7 separate regions of the Homo sapiens genome follow, and all the other regions are linked to region 3. Evidence: promoter capture Hi-C in 16 types of primary human blood cells and fetal thymus (Javierre and others, 2016). All regions are on one chromosome and are shown on one strand. Each heading gives the region's core, a stretch centred on a gene start or on the middle of the fragment in contact. The rest is flanking DNA. Distances are from core to core; before and after follow the strand shown. Region 1 has its middle 58 kb from the start of TMPRSS11F. Region 2 holds the start of STAP1 (signal transducing adaptor family member 1). Region 3 holds the start of TMPRSS11D (transmembrane serine protease 11D). Region 4 has its middle 38 kb from the start of YTHDC1. Region 5 has its middle 7.6 kb from the start of YTHDC1. Region 6 overlaps YTHDC1 (YTH N6-methyladenosine RNA binding protein C1). Region 7 overlaps CENPC (centromere protein C).

The links. Contacts are between HindIII fragments. The CHiCAGO score rates a contact against its expected background, and 5 or more counts as called.
Region 1: a contact is called between a fragment that was not itself captured here and the fragment with the promoter of TMPRSS11D in region 3, in 2 of 17 cell types (monocytes and M2 macrophages). The highest score is 5.4, in monocytes.
Region 2: a contact is called between the fragment with the promoter of STAP1 here and the fragment with the promoter of TMPRSS11D in region 3, in 8 of 17 cell types (naive CD8 T cells, erythroblasts, naive CD4 T cells and 5 more). The highest score is 8.6, in naive CD8 T cells.
Region 4: a contact is called between a fragment that was not itself captured here and the fragment with the promoter of TMPRSS11D in region 3, in 1 of 17 cell types (monocytes). The highest score is 5.0, in monocytes.
Region 5: a fragment that was not itself captured here is called in contact with the fragment with the promoter of TMPRSS11D in region 3 in 1 of 17 cell types (neutrophils); the score reaches 6.5 in neutrophils.
Region 6: a fragment that was not itself captured here is called in contact with the fragment with the promoter of TMPRSS11D in region 3 in 4 of 17 cell types (M0 macrophages, monocytes, M2 macrophages and 1 more); the score reaches 7.4 in M0 macrophages.
Region 7: a fragment that was not itself captured here is called in contact with the fragment with the promoter of TMPRSS11D in region 3 in 1 of 17 cell types (M2 macrophages); the score reaches 5.1 in M2 macrophages.

What each region holds. Positions count from the first base shown.
Region 1 is chr4:68,186,095-68,188,794 of GRCh38, forward strand. It overlaps the pseudogene FTLP10 and the pseudogene TMPRSS11BNL. Among named protein-coding and RNA genes, the nearest start is that of TMPRSS11F, 58 kb to the left of the region's middle. The HindIII fragment of the contact is 5,254 bases long and covers 1-2,700 here.
Region 2 is chr4:67,557,422-67,560,121 of GRCh38, forward strand. STAP1 (signal transducing adaptor family member 1) reads left to right here and starts at 1,306. Exons shown (of 9, transcript NM_012108.4): 1 at 1,306-1,508. The coding sequence starts at 1,389. The HindIII fragment of the contact is 12,125 bases long and covers 1-2,700 here.
Region 3 is chr4:67,882,620-67,885,319 of GRCh38, forward strand. TMPRSS11D (transmembrane serine protease 11D) reads right to left here and starts at 1,383. Exons shown (of 10, transcript NM_004262.3): 1 at 1,307-1,383. The coding sequence starts at 1,314. The HindIII fragment of the contact is 7,558 bases long and covers 1,232-2,700 here.
Region 4 is chr4:68,387,009-68,389,786 of GRCh38, forward strand. No RefSeq gene overlaps it. Among named protein-coding and RNA genes, the nearest start is that of YTHDC1, 38 kb to the left of the region's middle. RefSeq lists enhancers at 1,876-2,432, 2,433-2,778. The HindIII fragment of the contact is 8,883 bases long and covers 1-2,778 here.
Region 5 is chr4:68,356,336-68,359,035 of GRCh38, forward strand. No RefSeq gene overlaps it. Among named protein-coding and RNA genes, the nearest start is that of YTHDC1, 7.6 kb to the left of the region's middle. The HindIII fragment of the contact is 9,491 bases long and covers 1-2,700 here.
Region 6 is chr4:68,340,003-68,342,828 of GRCh38, forward strand. All of the region lies in intron 1 of YTHDC1 (YTH N6-methyladenosine RNA binding protein C1), which reads right to left. Among named protein-coding and RNA genes, the nearest start is that of YTHDC1, 8.7 kb to the right of the region's middle. The HindIII fragment of the contact is 1,993 bases long and covers 465-2,457 here.
Region 7 is chr4:67,538,583-67,541,282 of GRCh38, forward strand. It overlaps CENPC (centromere protein C), which reads right to left. Exons shown (of 19, transcript NM_001812.4): 3 at 2,398-2,468; 4 at 1,258-1,352. Among named protein-coding and RNA genes, the nearest start is that of CENPC, 5.6 kb to the right of the region's middle. The HindIII fragment of the contact is 6,752 bases long and covers 1-2,700 here.

The sequences.
Region 1 (2,700 bases), core at 68-2,567, 300 kb after region 3:
CAGTATAAGTGCGATATCATCATGATGTTCATCCTGGATGTAGTCTTCATGAATAATAATTTGTTGAACATCATGTTGCATATAGGGAAGAGTTACTTTCGTGCCAAAGCTGACAGTATAGTTTTTTGGATTTTTTGTCCTAAAGAAATAAAAATCATGTATTTTGTACTTATTTCAAGATAATAGAGATACATTCTGCATCTACTGTACTCTTTTCTTGGCATGAATATTTCCTTGCTCTATAGTCCATTAGCAATGATATAATCTGATTTTTAACTCATTTGAAAAAATCTTGAGTTCCTACACCATACACCATGTAAGGCAATGGGGGAATAGAATAAAAATAAATGGCCATGCCATCGAAAAGTTTAAATCTGGTGAAAGGTAGGTGTAAACACTAGCAGTTATAATAGGTTAAATAGTGGTGTATATAATTAGTGGGACTACAAAATAGGAAGACTTAAATCTGTATTCTTAAAGGAATGGAAGATTTCTTAGGGAAAATAGCATTTTGGATAAGACTATGGACTAAGTCGCATTTGCCTAAAAGGCAAGGAGATGGGGGCAGGCATGTGCAGAGAGGAAGGTACATATGAAATAGAATGTGTTTCAGCAACTACAAGTAGTTTAGGATGTCTGTATTATAAAGTGATGAGAGGTGAGTATCATGTGAAGAAAAAATGCACTGTCCAGAATGAATGACTCTTCCCATTTTTACTGAAAAGTTAGGAAAGTCTTAGATAGGCTTACCATATAATTTTTCTTCCAAACCGGGACACTTTTGAGAATGAAAGGGAGTGCTGCTAATATTTAAACAGGGATAACAGGTGCAAACTGGAACTTCCTCCAAAGCCTTTGGTTTCTGTAGCTTTGGGCAACATAATGAACTTAACACTTTAAAACAGTGAGCTGCAGTCACCAAGTGTCTTTCACTGATCAATGATGCCCCACAGTAGTGTTGCCCACTCATTTTAAGGCTTGCTTGTCATGGTCATTCTCCTTCCTGATCAATGGAACCTCCCCTGACTCTATCAAATGTAGGTGGCATCCTTGCTCGTCTCCCACAGCCTGTCAGAAAAAGTCAGTTTTGCTTCATTAAAAATAGGAAAATAACATTTGATTACAAAGCAGAGAGTGAGCTGAGTTGGCTTTGTGTGGTTATATCTGACAATATCTTGTGCTGATAGGTACAGTGTAATCTGTACAGGAATCACTAGCAGCCAGTGGATTGCTTGCATACCCAACATACTGTCTCCAAGACACCAGCACTTGGAGAATGTGTGAGCTGTGGAAGGCAGATAAAGTTATGGTTAAGTCCATGCTCTGCAACCAGACTCCCTGAGTTTGAATTCTGGCCTCGCCATTTACAAGCTGGATGAATTTGGGCAATCATTTCACTTCTTTGTGCTTCAGTTTCCCCATCTCAAAAATGGAATCATAATCATAACCATCTGTAGGATGGTTACAAATATTAAATGAATTACTGTATATGTAAAACACTTAGAACTGTTCCTAACCAATAGTAACAAATCATGATTGCTGTGCTTTAGATCACCTCATAAATTTAATTAAAAAGTATCTGAACTTACGGTTGTTGATAATTTTTGCAGCACTGACCTTACTGATTTCTGAAATAGAACAAAAAATTCATAGTAAATTTAAAACCTAGCACCTCTGACCTTGGGGCGATGGATTAAGACGATAGGTCAAGCAGGGCAGAAGAGTCCGTAAATAATTTGAAATTTCAAAATAAAGTGTTAATACAAAGGAGAGAACACTGGTTTATTGGAATTGTTCTTTTACTATACATGAATGTATGATATGGAGGTACCATCTTCATGGCTCCGCAGGAGAGACTTCTTTCTTATTTGATTAGAATTGTATTCTACATCATCTAAAGTGGAAAACTGTGAGTGTCTTTTCTTAGAAGAAGAGGAATTCCCTACAAGTGAACCTAATTCCTGTCAGTATACAAAAAGATAACTTTTAAAAAGTGACCTGTCTTATAATGGTGGGTCCACTGCTGTTTTTGAAAGTTATAGGAGATTTTTAAAAGATTAGCAAGACACATCAGTACTTATAAGGACTGTTTAAAGTATCAATATCTGCTTTTGAATGAAAAGCAGCCTGCCCTCACCCCTGAATCAAGTAAAAGGTTTGGTATTATTGTGATTTGATTGTGTTTTTAATAGTGAAGAATACAAATAATTGCTCTGATATAAAAGTGACATTCATTTGAAAATATTGAAGATCAGTTTTGTGTCTGATATTTGTGATATATGCTAGGGATAAAATGATGAAAGTAACACCACTCCCATCATGAGCTTACCCATAAGCCTCAGAGAATTCAGATCTGTAGTCAAGGATCCTGAGTGGTTCTTCAGCATCTGATGTAAGATACTTTCAATTCTTTTTCTTGTGTTTTCTTTCATTGATCTTGGACCCTTGAATACCAGCCATATATGTGCTGTCACTCTGTTGTTATCAGGACTGGAAACAACATAAAGTTTTCATATGTTGCTGAAAACAGCATTTTCTTCCTCTTTGTCTGATCTTTCATAGCTTGGTTTCTTCTGCTCTTTTGTGGGTTTGTGGAGTACCTTTAGGTTAAGCACAGGACCATCCATCCTCTTATATTTGCTTGGTGACAGTATGCATGCAGCTGTATTATTCAATATAGAGGACAAGCAGTTACACAAA
Region 2 (2,700 bases), core at 56-2,555, 330 kb before region 3:
TCTCTGCCAGATATTTTTTTGCCAAATATCTTAGACTCCTTTGTGTTGCTGTAACAGAATGCCACAGACTGGTAATTTATAATGAACAGAAATGTATTTCGCTCATGGTTCTGGAGTCTGGAAGTCAAAGAACATGGCCAGCATCTGATGAGGACCTTCATGCAGCATCATTCCATGGCAGAAGATAGAAGAGCAAGAGAGGATGATAGCATGTGAGAAAGTGCCAAACTTGATTTTATAAAAAACCCACTTCCAGGCCAGGTGCAATGGCTCACACATGTAATCCCAGCACTTTGGGAGGCCACAGCAGGAGAATCGCTTGAGCCCAAGAGTTTGAGACCAACCTGGGCAACATAGGGAGATACTGTCTATACAAAAAATGAAAAAGTTAGCTAGGAGTGGTGGCGCGTGCCTTGTAGTCCCAGCTACTTAGGAGGCTGATGTGTGAGGATTGTTTGAGCCTGAGAGGTCAAGGCTGCAGTGAGCTGTGATTGCACCAGTGTATTCCAGCCTGGGCAACAGAGCAAGACCCTGCCTCTGAAAAAAGAGAAAGAAACCCACTCCCACAGCATTAATTAATTCATTCATTCATGAGGGCAGAGGCCTCATGACTTAATCACCTTCTAAAAGTCCCATTTCTAAACACTGTTGCATTGGGGATTAAGTTTCTAACACATAAGTTTTGGAGGACACATTCAAAACATAGCACTAAATATTCATTGGGAACTCATGTACTTGGAATATCTACTGGCAAAAAAAAAAAAAAAAGAAAGAAAGAAAAAAGAAAAAAATTCCATATTCCGTGTTCCCATAATTGTGGTTTATATTTAGTGAAGCATCAAATGAGCATGAGATACAACTATTTTTTTTATTTACACAAAACTTGACCCTAAAATATTTAACCAACAGAAGTAGTACTAATAAAATTATTCTATGAAGTAATTTTTAATGAAGCTGAGTTTATTCAAGTCATGTCTTCTGCAAATAAAAATGGACACCAATAAACAAAAACAAAGATAGAAAGAATAACTGTGTTCTTGATATCTCCCCTAAAGTTCACAATCTCTACACCTGTTTCTTTCATCTTCTGGTGATGTTAATCTTCTGTTTATTTTGCGCTTTAAATCTAAGCACATGTGGATTACCCAGAGATTGCCCTCTGAAAGTCAGTCTACACCTGTTCTTTCTTACCTCACAAAAAGTAATGGAAAAAAAAGTGTGTGTGTGTGTGTGTGCGTCTGTGTGTGTGTGTGTCCTGTTGGTGGTAGTGTTGGTGGTTAAAAAGCAATTTGGGACTTCCTCTTTGAACAGTTGCCTTTTCCTCTCACAGAAGGAAGATTTCATTTTGTTTGAGACGAGAAACCAAACCACACACCAAAGAGAGGGGTATGATGGCTAAGAAGCCCCCAAAACCAGCCCCTCGCAGGATCTTCCAGGAAAGGTTAAAGATTACTGCTCTACCTTTGTACTTTGAAGGTTTTTTATTAATCAAGCGGTCAGGATACCGGGTGAGTCTATAGATGATAATGTTAAACCTAAGACTTCTGTTTTAATTTAATATTTATTTCATGGTGATGTGATGTGTTAAGACCTCCTTGTTTCTGTTGAAATTAAATCATCTTCTCTTCTTTGAGCTCAGAAAAATGATTCCAATTTTTCATAATTTAAATACAATGTCTGGCTTAAACCTGTATGTATACACATATATAATATGTATAATAACAGAGGTTGTAATATTAAGGCACTAATATAAAAAAGTCAATAAGCTAAATTTCCAAAGAATTTATTTAAATATCACAAAAGATTTTGGCTTGGGAGATAAAATGTTTCTTGTATTTTCTCCACAATTTATTGCTATGCTTCAATGATGACATGTACCATTAAGATAAAATGATATCATGATTAAAATTAAACCTGCTCCTGTTCTGAGTCATTTGAAGTTTATAATGATCAAATTATTAAAAATGGCTTTTGTAAAAATTGTTAAAATGACAAAGTTCATACTGTTTAACATTATATATAGTTATGTGTTCTAAAATACTATTCAAGATAGTGACTTTTAATTTTTGGGGTACTACTGTGGGTATTAAGTACACTAAGCTACATAAATACCTTTGCTCTAAGAAAATCCATGAAGCATTCTGTATTTTTAAATGTAATAATTAAAACTTATAGTTAGTTAAAATCATTACTTTTAAAACAGTAATTATGGATGACTTGAAATTAATTAGAGAAATAAGCCCAAAATTGCCTGTTATTAAATAAAAAAATCATTAAGTTAGGTCAAATTTTATGAAATTGTATACTGACTAAAACTAGAAAAATTTTAAGGTTTTCAGAAATTCCATCAGAAATGTTTAATGATGCTAAAATATATTTTCTGAGGATTTATGAATACTTGTGGAAAAATTATATATATGAAAAATCTATAATAGCATATTCACATTTCTTACATATATAATCAGATCATTTACTATTTGAGAGTAAAGACATGGTAATTTGTATTCTGTTATGGATGTTAAACATGCATAAATAATTACCTTTCAGTTATATTAGAATTTTTTAGATTGATCCTATATGCTTTTAATGTAAATTCAATCTTGTCACCACAGGTAAGCCACATAGTCACACTTTGCCAGGAAAGGGAAGTTGAGAAAAAAAAATTCTAATTAGTAATTTAAATCAGGTTGTTCATTGAAT
Region 3 (2,700 bases), core at 133-2,632:
TATTTTAAAATCAGAGTAATTTCTTTAAAATTAAAATATTTCAGCAAAATACATTTTAAAATGCACTATATTACCCAAATAATATTACACTTATAGATGGTTTAAGAACAATAAAAAATATAATTCATAAACTCACTGCTTTAGTATAACAAACCTGATTAATGTTCTATGTTCTTTATTAGACTTTCTCCCATGTATAGCTTTACAAAGTAGTAGTTGATGAGTAAATACAATTTTGTGATTTGTTTTTTTCACATAAAATAAGAACAAACTCAGTATGTAAATTACTTCATAGGTTTTTAAGCTACTTTAATACATTTCTTGTATCTATTACATGAATATGAAATGATTTTATTTCTTCTATCATTGGAAGCTTAGACAGCTATCCACTTTTCACTCATATATATATATTCAAGTGCATATAACTGTATATATATTTTTATTACTTAAAATGGTTTGACTTTTGATTGAATTTTCCAATGTTCAGGAGATTTAAAATAAATTCAGCTGCACTTATTATAGCTAACACATTGTTCATGCTTTTGTTGATCCTTTCAGCATGACTTATCAGTATCATGTTTTCCTGTAGTCATAGAAAAATAATATGCATAATATATACACTTAAGTGCACACATAAACATACCAAGTTACATAATTATTTCATTGTTTTGAGATGTTAACGTGTGACTTGATTATCTCACAACTTTTTTCTTTCTTTATGTGAAAGTATAGGAAAATACTTATTCATTAACTAAAAAGAAAACCAGAGAGAGATTATTTTCTCTTAAATGTTAGCAAGAACTTTCTTGAAAATAATTCTACAACTATATAAAAAGTAGAAAAATACCGTCTTTACTTTCTAAAAGTGTACTTTAGGATTTATGGCATATTTATTTAATAGCTAGCAATAAAACTGTAATGGAAGTCAAAACACAGAATCCTCGAAAAGTTCCAAACAACACAAGAATTGTTTACTGATTGCAATTTTAAAATCCACACACCACTTTTCGAAATGTTGCACATGAGAAACAAAACCACTTCCTTATTTAAAGATATGTTGTCATAACGCTAAGCTAAGTATTTTTGTGGTTGTTTTATAAAAAATTCAGTTAAGCAACTATGTACCTTATGAAAATAATATCAAGCATATTATCTAAACAATATCTAAGAGTTTCGATGAAGTTTTCAGAGAAGTAACTAGAAGATTGCTAGACACAGTCAAAATTTGCTAAGCTTCTTTATATTTTTCCCATACTGTAAGATATAGTAAAACTTTTAAAGCTACAAAGACAAAAACAGGACTTACCTATACATTTTAATCCTTAATGAAGAGGTTCTTTTTTCTGCCTACTCAACTGCTTTGAGATTCCCACTCAAATGAATGACTCTCATGTATTACGTGTGATCTATAGTTGAGGACAAAGGAGGAAATCTCATGTTAATTAAAATCTAACTTGTTAAACAAGTTTGAGGGAATCAACAAACCAATAGTATGACTTGTGGAAGATAATTGGAAATAGACAGGGAATTTCACAAATTAGTAAGAAATTTATTTATTCTGGTAAATTGAGATTAAACACAATTACAATTGACAGGTATTTTGTGAAAGCCTGTGACTACTTCACAACTGTAGAGTCACTTTTAGTTCAAGAGGATTTGACACTTATTTTGCTCATGTTATCATATTGTTATACACCTCATTCCTCAACACAGCCAGCCAAGATCCATCAGAACATACTTTCCGTACATTAATGGGCACTACCTCTGAATTCCCTCATCTGTATGATTAAATGCAGTTTTTCTCATAATATATGAAACAGAGCATAATTGAGTAGATGCACAAAGTAAGACAAGCAAACAGAATAGTTGGAACTAAAATCCACTTTGTTTTTTTCCAAATATGATCATTTGAAAAAGCTATTCTAACACACTACTACTAGAAGAGGAGCAGACAGAAGAAGACAGTATGAGTGTGTAGGGTGTTAGGGTAAGGATGGAGAGCTCAAGAAAACAGGCAAGACTAGCAGGGAGGGGAAAAAGGGCATTCCTGTCTAACATTGCAAAGAAGCAGGATATAAATTTGGAAGGTTATACTGGGGTTACTTTGTGAGAACTAATGAATGCTAAAGAATTGGAACTTGTAATAGAATTATTACAATATTATTAGTAGTACAATATGAATTCTAGTCTTAGCTTTTTCACCAACTAATTGTGTAGCTTAAGGGAAAAAATTTACTTATTTCTCCATAAGTCACATGTATCTACTAAGAAAAGTGGAAGCTGAATCAGGAGGTCTTAGAGGACTCTCAATTATAAAATTCTATGACTTCATCTTGTAAAGCACTGACAACTAATGGTTAAATTTACTCCAATACTGCAACTTCAGATGTGTTCAGTTACTTGACTTTTTCTATATAATGTGCAAATCAAACAACAGAGACAGGAATAAGTGGTTACTTATATGTTTTTTCCCAAATATATTTGGGAAATATATTTTTTACATACAGTATCTCATGCCTGACATTCTGCCATTGATTTTTTAGCAATAAATAAATAACTATAATAAGATTTAAAAGTTTAAAAAATAAAGTTACCTAAACAAACCATTTTTAAATTTTACATGTTAACTTCAAGTACCTTTAAATATAGTTATATCATGGTATATAATTTTGTATTATGCTTTTTATACTTAATATTATT
Region 4 (2,778 bases), core at 140-2,639, 500 kb after region 3:
TGATACAATGTCTCACTCTGTTGTCCAGGCTGGAATGCAGTGGCAGAATCACAGGTCACTGCAGCCTTGACCTCCTGGGCTAAAGTAATCCTCTACCCCAGCCTTCCAAGTAGCTGGGACCACAGGCGTGCACCACCACGCCTGGCTAATTTTTAAATTTTTTGTGGGTATCACTATGTTGCCCAGGCTGGTCTTGAACTCCTGGGCTCAAGCAATCCTCCCATCTTGGCTTCCCAAAGTATTGGGATTACAGGAGTGAGCCACTGTGCCTGGCCTGGATGGGTAACCTTTGAAAAGTTATGTAAAATCTGTGTGCCTCAATGAGGATAGTAACAGAAACTTCCCTGGAATTACTTGAAGTTTAAATGAGTTAATCTATGTAAACAACCTAGAACGGGCCGGGCACAGTGGCTCACGACTGTAATCCCAGCACTTTAGGAGGCCAAGGTGGGTGGATCTCCTGAGGTCAGGAGTTCCAGACCAGTCAGGCCAACATGGCGAAACCCCATCTCTACTAAAAATACAAAAACTAGCTGGGGGTGGTGGCACATGCCTGTAATCCCCACTCCTCGAGAGGCTAAGGCAGGAGAATAGTTTGAACACAGGAGGCAGAGGTTGCAGTGAGTCGAGACTGTGCCACTGCACTCTAGCCTGGGCAGCAGAGAGAGACTCCATCTCAAAAAAAAAAAAAAAAAAAAAAGAACCTAGAACAATGGCTGGCATAGAGGCATAGAATAAGCATTATATGTATTAGCTATGATTACAAAAGAGGAATCTATAAGGTATTCTGCAGACAAAGAGAAGGAAGTGGCTAATTTAGTCTGCAGAGTAGAGAAGAACCTCAGAGAGCTGCAATTTGCAAAGCAAGGAGGAGAGATGAATATTTGTTTTGTTTTGTTTTTTGAGACCAAGTTTCAGTCTTGTTGCCCAGGCTGGAATGGAATGGCATGATCCCGGCTCACTGCAACCTCTGCCTCCAGGATTCAAGCGATTCTCCTGCCTCAGCCTCCCAAGTAGCTGGAATTACAGGCACCCACCACCATGCCTGGCTAATTTTTGTGTTTTTAGTAGAGACGGGGTTTTACCATGTTGGCCAGGCTGGTCTCGAACTCCTGACCTCAGGTGATCCACCCGCCTCGGCCTCCCTAAGTGCTGGGATTACAGTCATGAACCACCGTGCCCGGCCGAGAGATGAATATTAAAACATATTTGAGGGACTTTAGAAATTGTCAGTCTTTAAAGTCTGTAAGAAGGATGGTCTGGATGACTCCTTTAGCATGAACTCATTATTTAGTAGATGACTCCATCCCAATTAGTATTTATGCCTGTGGAAATCTCATATGAAGAGCTAGATCTGATTAGCAGCTCTATTATATCTAGCTTAATGCTCACAATTTGTTCCACAAAGCCATTCTCTCTCTCTCTCTCGTCTTTCCCTCCTTCCATTTTGTTAGATCACATATTATAATAGTTATATGCTTTAAACCCTTATTTAGAACAATAAAGATGACTGACTTACATTTCAGACATTGTCGCTCCATGTCGCTAGTTTTAAAACCTGCCCAACTTAGTAATAAAAAGTAATGGCTCCTCAGATAAGAGTTTCATGATAGTTTCTTAGAAACGAGTCAATGACACTACTGTAATAGCAGGGGAAAAGATTTCTAAGTCACATCATATTTTCAAACTGACAATTTTAGCTACAAAAGTACAACTTCCAAGAGGTCTTTCCCAGGTAAACATGGAAGGGATTTACCAGTCCACAGAAAAGTGACTGCCTCTCCCTTGGATAAATGAGATTCTTTGCTTCCTGAAAATGAGAAACTGCTATTTCAATTTCAATGCCAAAGATCAAATTTTCTGACTACTGTGAATGAGGCTGCTCAGCATTTACAACACTAAAAACAAAGAAAAGAAAGCCGAAGAGGAACAATTTTTTTTTAGCATTTGCCCCAGGCCTTTGCAATCAAAGCATAACCCAGCTTATTTTTGGGGTGACTACACCCTCCATTCTCCAGGTAGCTGAATCTTCCTTGCATGTGTGAAAGCATCACTGACAAAGTTTCGTTGTCATGGAGTTTTTAGATAAGTATCTCTGAGTTTAAAATCCCAAATTATATGCATCCACCCACCCTTATACTATAATTAATATCTGTCTTGGGGCTTTTTAGAAATAACTACACACATCAACAGTTTCACAACTGCTTCTGTGAGTGGTGAGATTAGTAGGCAGATTTCTAGGGGAATTATGCAGGTGACCAGTCATTAATATGCACATTGTTAAAATGTTTGAACGTTGTCATGATGATGATACAGCGCCGATGAGTGGAGGAACACCAAGTTCTACGTCCTCATGCTGGTTTAGATAAAACGACACTGACACACGTGGAGTGGTTTTAAGGAGCGGAAAGTTTAATAGGCAAGAAAGAAAAGAGAAGGCAGAAGGAAGAGGCTCTCCTGTACAGAGACAGAGGGAGGGGGGCTCCAAAGCCGAGAGAGGGAACCCCATCTGGCAGGGATACCAGCCAGGTATATATACAGAGGCTGGAGGAGGCAGTGTCTGATTTGTATAGGGCTCAGGGGATTGGTTTGACAAAGCATGTCATTCATATAGCCCAGGAAAAAGCCTGCCCTCCCACCCTAGCCTTTTAATATGCCAATGCAGGGCACCATGATGTTCTACCCACGTGGGGATATGTGGGGGCGGCCATGTTGCCAGGAAGTGTGGGGCAAGGTCAAGATGGCAGTGGGAATAGCCATGTTTGGGTGGACCCAGTT
Region 5 (2,700 bases), core at 142-2,641, 470 kb after region 3:
CCTTCAAAATCTGATCAAATTCATTATTCTCTACCTTCCCCCAGATGATATCTGATCACCCTAACCTGCCTTTAGAAAGAATACTATCAAATCAGTTTAGCAAGAATCTCCTCTTACCCCTTGCTATGATTTGGATGTTTGTCCCCTCCAAAATCATGTTGAAATTTAATTGCCATTGTAACAGTATTAAGAAGTGAGACCCTTAAGAGGTGATTAGGCAATAAAGGCTCCACCCTCATAAGTGGGACTGATATTATAAAAAGGAGACTTCAACCCTCTGTTGGCCTTTTTGCCTTCCACCATGGAATGATGCTGCAAGAAGGCTCTTACCAGATGTCAGCACCTTGACATTGAACTTCTCAGCTTTCTGAACTATGAACCAATAAATTTCTGTTCATTATAAATGACCCAGTCTCTTGGGCCAGGCATGGTGGCTCACGCCTGTAATCCCAGCACTTTGGGAGGCCAAGGTGGGTGGATCACTTGAGATCAGGAGTTCAAGACCAGCCTTATCAACATGGAGAAACCCCGTCTCTACTAAAAATACAAAATTAGCCAAGCGTGGTGGTTCATGCCTGTAATCCCAGCTACTCAGGAGGCTGAGACAGGAGAATCGCTTGAACCCGGGAAGCGGAGATTTCAGTGAGCCGAGATTGCGCCATTGCACTCCAGCCTGGGCATACAGAGCAAGACTCCGTCTCAAAAAAAAATAAATAAATAAATAAATAAATAAATAAATTACCCAGTCTCAGGTATTCTGTTACAGCAGCACAAAATGGACAAAGACACCCCTAATGTTTCCTCTTAGTAATTTTCAATCCACTGACCCCCAACCCTGTTCATTTGCTATAAATCTCCCCTTGTTCATGCTGTATTCAGAATTGAGCCCAATTCCATACTGAGGTTTATTTTCCTACATTGCAATATTTACTAAATAAAATTTGTTTTTTCTGCTCTAGCTACTATTCAACTGTGATTTTCTTTAACAGTGTAATGCAGCAGAGTCATTTGTGTTGTGCCAAGTTCCTGCCTGTGAAATTTAGCATATGTTGTAGTTTTAAAATAACTAACATTTTACCAATACATTTACTTATAACTTCTTTTTGACATATATTATCTTATTTAACATTCTGAAACAGCTTGTGATTTAATTACAATAACACCAATTATATTTTTAATTGAAAAATAAATAAAAGGAATATTTAAATATCACTGGGTATTCTTAAATTTGGAAATGTATTAATCTTCAGATTTAAGACCAGGTACCTAAGCCTTTTCTTCCACAGTAGGATGTCAATGTTAAATTTTCATTTAGCTTTTACATGTACCACAGAATGCAGCCTTGAATCCTTTAATAGCAATTATATTGGTTTATTGAGTTTCATAACAGGAAATAGACTATCAAAATATAAGTACTTCCAAAAAAAGATAACATTTTACAAGGCCCTTTTTTGGAAAACATGGTTAATTATTCCTGAGATATTTATAGAATTCTGGAATTCTGAAGTTGTTCTGCTTACTTTTGAGTAATATCGGTAGCTGACATTTTCTGAGTACTGACTGTGCCCAATCTGCTCTGTGTGCTGCCTATATTTTACCTCACTTAATTCTTATCACAGTCTTATAAGGGATTTTTTTTTTTTTTTTGAGACAGAGTATGCCCTATGTGGCCCAGGCTGGAGTGCAGTGGTGCGATCTTGGCTCACTGCAACCTCTGTTTCCTGGGTTCAAGCGATTCTCCTTCCTCAGCCTCCCGAGTAGCTAGGACTATAGGCAAGCACCACCATGCCTGGCTAATTTTTGTATTTTTAGTAAAGATGGGTTTTTGCCATGTTGGCCAGGCTGGTCTCGAACTCCTGACCTCAAGTGATCTGCCCACCTCAGCCTCCCAAAGTGCTGGAATTACAGGCATGAGCCACAGCGCCTGACTTGTTATCTTTATTAGGAACAAAGTTTCTTCTGAGTAAACATTTAGTCTTTTTGTTGTTGTTGTTGTTGTTGTTGTTGAGACAGGGTCTCGCTCTGTTGTCTAGGCTGGAGTGCAGTGGCATGATATCGGCTCACTACAATCTCCTCCTCCTGGGTTCAAGCATTCTTCTGCCTCATCCTCCCAAGTAGCTGAGATTACAGGTGCGCGGCACCATGCCTGGCTAATTTTTTGTTGTTTTAGTAGAGATGGGGTTTCACTATGTTGGCCAGGCTGGTCTCAAACTCCTGGCCTTAAGTGATCCGCCTACCTCGGCCTCCCAAGGTGGTGGGATTACAGTTGTGAGCCATCACGCCGGCTTCTTGGTGGCATCTTGATACAGGGTGTGCTGGATATCTGTGGCCACCCTGATCAATTTTCCACCTTGCTCTATTCCTTAAGAATCTCATTCATAGGGACTACACAATAATCGTTTATCTTCTCTCAGTTTTGGTTGAGTTCAGGCATTTGAAGATAGGAAGAAAGTAAGGGTTTTGAACTATTTATTTTCATGGCTCCCTCTATGTAGGGTTAACATAGGGTAGCTCTGTCTCTCTATCTATGACCTCAATTCCTTTTCAACCCTATCTATACATCTATTCTATCTGGGCTCTAGTAACTCTGCCTTCCACTTGCCCATCCAGGCCCAGGGTAGTGCTATGGAATGAACTCCCATCCACCCCCAAATTCATATGTTGAAGCCCTATTCCCCAATATGACTATATTCGAAAATA
Region 6 (2,826 bases), core at 211-2,710, 460 kb after region 3:
AAAAACATCTTTCCAAATTTAAGGTGTGCCAAAGAGGAAGTATAAAGCCATGAAAACTGATGAGACAGAACAATTACATTTGTGGCTTCAGGAAAAAAACAAAGCCCACATGAATTACAGAAAGGTCTATTAATTAACCTGGGGGCTATAAACAGGTTAAATGGGATTCAAATTTTCCCCAAAGTGGGAAAGAAATCTGTGACTGAAGAGAATAGTTAATACAAACGATAAGGTTACATAGGAAATGGAAAAGATATCATTTTCCTTTACATTTGGAAACAGACACAATCTAAAGATATCTGAAAATTACTATGTCTGGAATAGCAAAATTGATCATTTTGGGTGGTACCAATGCTGATATGTACTTTCTATCATTTTTCTAAAATGAAAACAGGCTATATGGGTTTTTATTTTTGTTTACTTTTAAAAAATCTTATTTAAAATCAAGATATGTCAAACAAAAAAGCTTCTCTCATCATCTAGATTCATGTTTTTGCTAAGAAAAATTTCTTCAAGATCTGAATGGTGGCAAACACCATTTTCGGACTCTAAATTATAAAAAAAATAGTCTGATAGAAGTAAATCAATGTTTTACAGATGTTTAATAAGTACTGGGTCAAAGCTCACTAATCAGTAAAAAAGTAGATCCAACAGGTCTTCACAGAATCAAATACATTTGTAGAAGACAAAAAGAAAAAATTTCAAGACTATCACAATGAAACAGGCAAATAATGCTATACAAATCTTTTCATAAAATCACTAGATCTTATTCAGAAATATCATCCCCGAACCCTGAACATTTATATTATATACTTTAGACATGCTAAATTTAATACAGAATGAAATAATTTTGCAGAATGTTAATTTAAATAAATTTAAGTTTCAAACACACTTAAAGCCTGGTTTTCCTATAAAAAGGGGTATTACTGTTTTAAAGTTTTAACGAATTCAAATTCAGATACTGGTTGTAGTTTTAGAAAGCACCTACAACCTTTTTCAAGACAACAAATATTAACCAATGCTTACTACTTTTTAAAAATACTTTGTCACTTTTAAAATTTTATCACTTTTAAAATATATCATATATACAAATCATATAAAATAGAGCATGTTTAATCATTCATTACTTTGCAGATAAAGAAAGAGAAGCTCAAATGTTCCAGTTGACCAAATACACTTGTCTAGTAACAAATGGATATTAGTATGAAGTTCCGGCTTTAGAAATTGACAGTTAAATCAGATGGGGAACAATAAAAGCAACTTTAACCAAAGTATAAAGAACACAAATGCAAAATATTAAAAGGGCATATATACTAGAACATAAATTTCAAATTAGTGCACCAGAAAGCTCTATATCTTTAACATTACAACATTTAAAATCTACTGAAATATTCAAAATCAACTATAACACCCTCACTTAAATGATGTACACACTTTTATCCGTATTATAGTCCATAACATCAATAAACTGTGTGGTTTTACCACAAACTGGCAAACTAAAACCTACAGGATAAACATGGCCCATTGCCTATTTAGAATGGCCTGCAAGAATGGTTTTTACGTTTTTAAGGCGCTTATTAACAAGAAAAAAAAAAAAGCAAAGAATATGTCAGAGAACACTTACAGCCCACAAAGTCTATTTGGCCCTTTACAAAGAGTTTTGCCAACCCCTGATATAATACAAATGACCAAATTTTAAGTACTTTTCTCCATCACTGAAACTCCTTATATATACACTGGAATATAATATACAAGGGGAAAAGTCTTGGAGGTTAAGGAAATGCAGGTTATAGCTTGCATTTAGGTATCAGGAAATTCCCAGTCTTTCTGAGTTCAAGATTCTTCACCTCTGATAAGAGGCACTTAAAAAAGGTCAGTTTTGGGGAAAGGAAAAGCAGGACATTTGAATCTTCTATGAGTTTTTCAACCTGTAAGAAGACTCTCCTTCCTTATAACTATTGGACTTTAATAAAACCTGCCTGCCCCAACCCTCTTGCTAATGACTGGGCTATGTGATATATATAAAATCTGGTCCAGAACACAAAACAAAATTCCTTCTTCAACAAAACAGGTATGGTATATGCATACATGTTCTGATTATCTACTGCTGTATAAGATGATCACCCTAAAACTTGACTTAAAATGGTAACACCTTTCATTATGGCTCATGGTTCCAGGGCTCAACCGGGGTCTCCCATGTGGCTGCAGTCAAATGGGGCTGGGGCTGGGGCTGAAATCATCTGAAGGCTTGTTCATTGACAAGTCTCGTTGATGTCTAGGCTGGGAAGATTCAAAGCTGGAGCTTCTCCAACATTTCTGTGTGTGTGATTACTCATTACTATGGCAACCACCGAGTAGGCAGATCTTTTACATGGTAGTTTAGGACTCTCGTGTCCCAACAGAGACGGGAACAGGTAGAAATCCAGCAACACCATCACAGTATTTATTCATCACAAAAGCTTACCTAGCTTCAAACAGAGGGGACACATATTCCAATCACTGTTGACAGAAGTGTCATACATAATACATGACAGATGTTTCCAAAATTACTATAGTTTTATTTAAGGGTAAATATTTTAATTATATACTTGAGGTGCATTTTTAATAACAAAAATTCATTTAAATAGGTCAATGTTAAAGCTTATAGTATTAAGTTATAAAGCTAATGTAAACTGCTGCTTCTGGCCATATTCTTCACTGACTTGAAAAAGTACACTTTGCATACATTTTAATTCATTTTTTTAACGTAGAATGAATTATAAAAGAAGAAACATTTTAATACTCTCACAAGCTACTGCTGTTAAAGACTATAATCATCACTGGCAT
Region 7 (2,700 bases), core at 183-2,682, 340 kb before region 3:
CCAAAGTGGTTAGAATTTGCAGGATAAAGTACTGGACAGGAGACGGTTACATAGAGAAAACTGCAGAATGTGCAGATCTCTCTCAAGCATTCAATCAAATATTGATCAGAGAATGCGTTGTAAGAAAACCAGAGAAAGAACCACCCGAAGCCTTGAGGGGGAATATCCTCCCAGTTACAAAGGACCTAGAATAATCTACCAGCCAGAGTGGAAAACCTCCATAAGTAACGGGACACAGTAGAGAAGAATTTTGCCTCAGAAGGGAAGAAAATTAGCCACAGACTATATTTTGCTAGTCTTTATTGTTTCCACAGCTTCTCATATATCTAAAATTTGTTTCCATTTTTTAAAATAGCTGCTTTAGCAGGAGTGTTAGCCTTCTGTGACTTACTGCATTCTACCTAGAAGAGGAACCTCTAGCATAACCTTGATACCAAAGCCCTGTAAGAACATTTTTCAAAAAAAGACAATATTATTCATAAACATAGATGCAAACATCTTCAATATTAGGCAAACCTAATCAAAAAAAGTTAATACTTTATGACCAAGTCAAGTTTATCCCAGAAAACCTAAAGTTGCTTTAACTTTCAAAAACCATTGTAATTTATCAAGTTTCAGAAGGCCTCTCAATTCTGAAAGAAATGGTTTTGTCTGCATTGCTTGGAACCAAAAGGCTACATATGTTTAATATGTTGATTGCCTTTTACAGTTTTCTAGTAAGTGTTACTTCTAGCACTATATGATTTTTCTAATTAGTATTGTGCTTTTGAATAATTTGCCTTAGATTAGCTTCAAATACTTTATTTGAAAGTCTGCTACTTAGTATAGTTAAGTCAACCAATACTTTATTTCTGATCAAACTAACAGCAATTAAAATATATAATCAACAGAAGATTGATTTCCCCGTATAACAATGAAGTGCCTTCATTTATTAGAATATAACCAACCCTGCCAACCTGATTAGCAACTTTGATCACTGCCCATTTTCCTAAAAACCTAATTTGAGTATTATTTTAGGAGAAGTGAAAAATGTTTATTATAATTTGATAATTCTAATTCCCATAATCCCAATTCCAACAGAAAATATCAAATAAAACTTTTCACAAAATACCTCCAAATTTTATAGAAAGTCAATGGGAATATAGAATTCCCTTTCAAGAATAAGACTTACAAACAACTAAAATATACATGAGTATATTGTGTATACCTTCATTCATTAAAATATTAAACCTATACCAGCTCTTCTTTATCACTTACCTCTTTGCTTGGTGACTGAATACAAGTGTCTTTTATTTTGCGTGTTGAATTAGGCACTGATTTTGTAGAATTTGTACTAAAATCATTGGCAAGACCTAAAACAAAAGTATGAAATTTTCAAAAACAAGATATAGTGTAATATCTATTAGTCACAATTAAAAGTAGCTGTATATGACATGTGAAGAACCATCTGTTGACTCACTGACCACAATTAGCTTAAATCAAGTAGAGACCTCAATTTAATATTCAAATGTTCCTGAGAAGCATCAGGAAATGAGAAAAGCAAACAAAACACCTGAAGTATCAATATATGCCAGCTCTTCTTTCAGAGCTTGTATAGAAAACATTCTTTTCTATCATCTGCCCCTATTTCTTTGGCTGGCTTATTCTCTTATTCCAATACCTGCTGATGCTAATCAGCACTTGGAAAAGTTTTTGCTGTAATTTATGACTTCCTTAAACAGATATGTAAATCACCAAAGATTATCTCAAATTCTCCAGCGATTCCAAGAATTCTACACATCTATTTTCATTATATATTTTTTCTGGCTAGATGCAGTGGCTTATGCCTGTAATCCCAACACTTTGGGAGGCTGAAGAGGGCAGATCACTGGAGGGCAGGAGTTCGAGACCAGACTAGCCAACATGGTGAAACCTGGTCTCTACTAAAAAATACAAAAATTAGCCAGGCGTGGTGGCACACACCTGTAATCCCAGCTACTTGGAAGGCTGAGGCACAAGAATCACTTGAACCTGGGAGGCAAAGGTTGCAGTGAGTTGAGATAGCACCACTGTACTACAGCTTGGGTGACACCGCAGGACTATGTCTCAATAAATAAATAAATAATAAAATACTTTTTCTTGTGTATGATAATTATGTATGGACTTCCAGATTACAGTAATTTAATGTGAACTAAACGGGATGACAAATTATTGTCAAATTATTATTTTTTGTCAGTATTATCCTAAGTATACCAGAAGGTACACAAAGGATTGCATATGAACTCAAAATACCAGGGAAAATATTTTCCATATATTTAAACCCTAGAACATATTTGCTGCATTTGATATTAATTACCATGACAAATTCATATTTTCATCCATCTAACCCTTAAATTCCATCTTGAAATGAAGCCTTACTTTTTTCTTCAAAACAGTCTTGTAAGATTTCCAGAACATTCTGGCCTTGCTCTGTGTTAATGTCACGTGCCCTAATAAAGGAAAAATACAGCCTGTCATTTTCAGAAGATATTTCTTTATATTACCATCTCTTTGAAAATTCCACATCTCATTATAAAATATAAATTTACTTAATATGTAAAATATCTTTACTATTTGAAGACAAAACAAGTACTTGAGGGTCTATACATTCCCTCAAGTGAACTCTTTCCTTCCTAATAAGAATTAGTATATCATAATCTACCTTAACAATTAATATTTCTT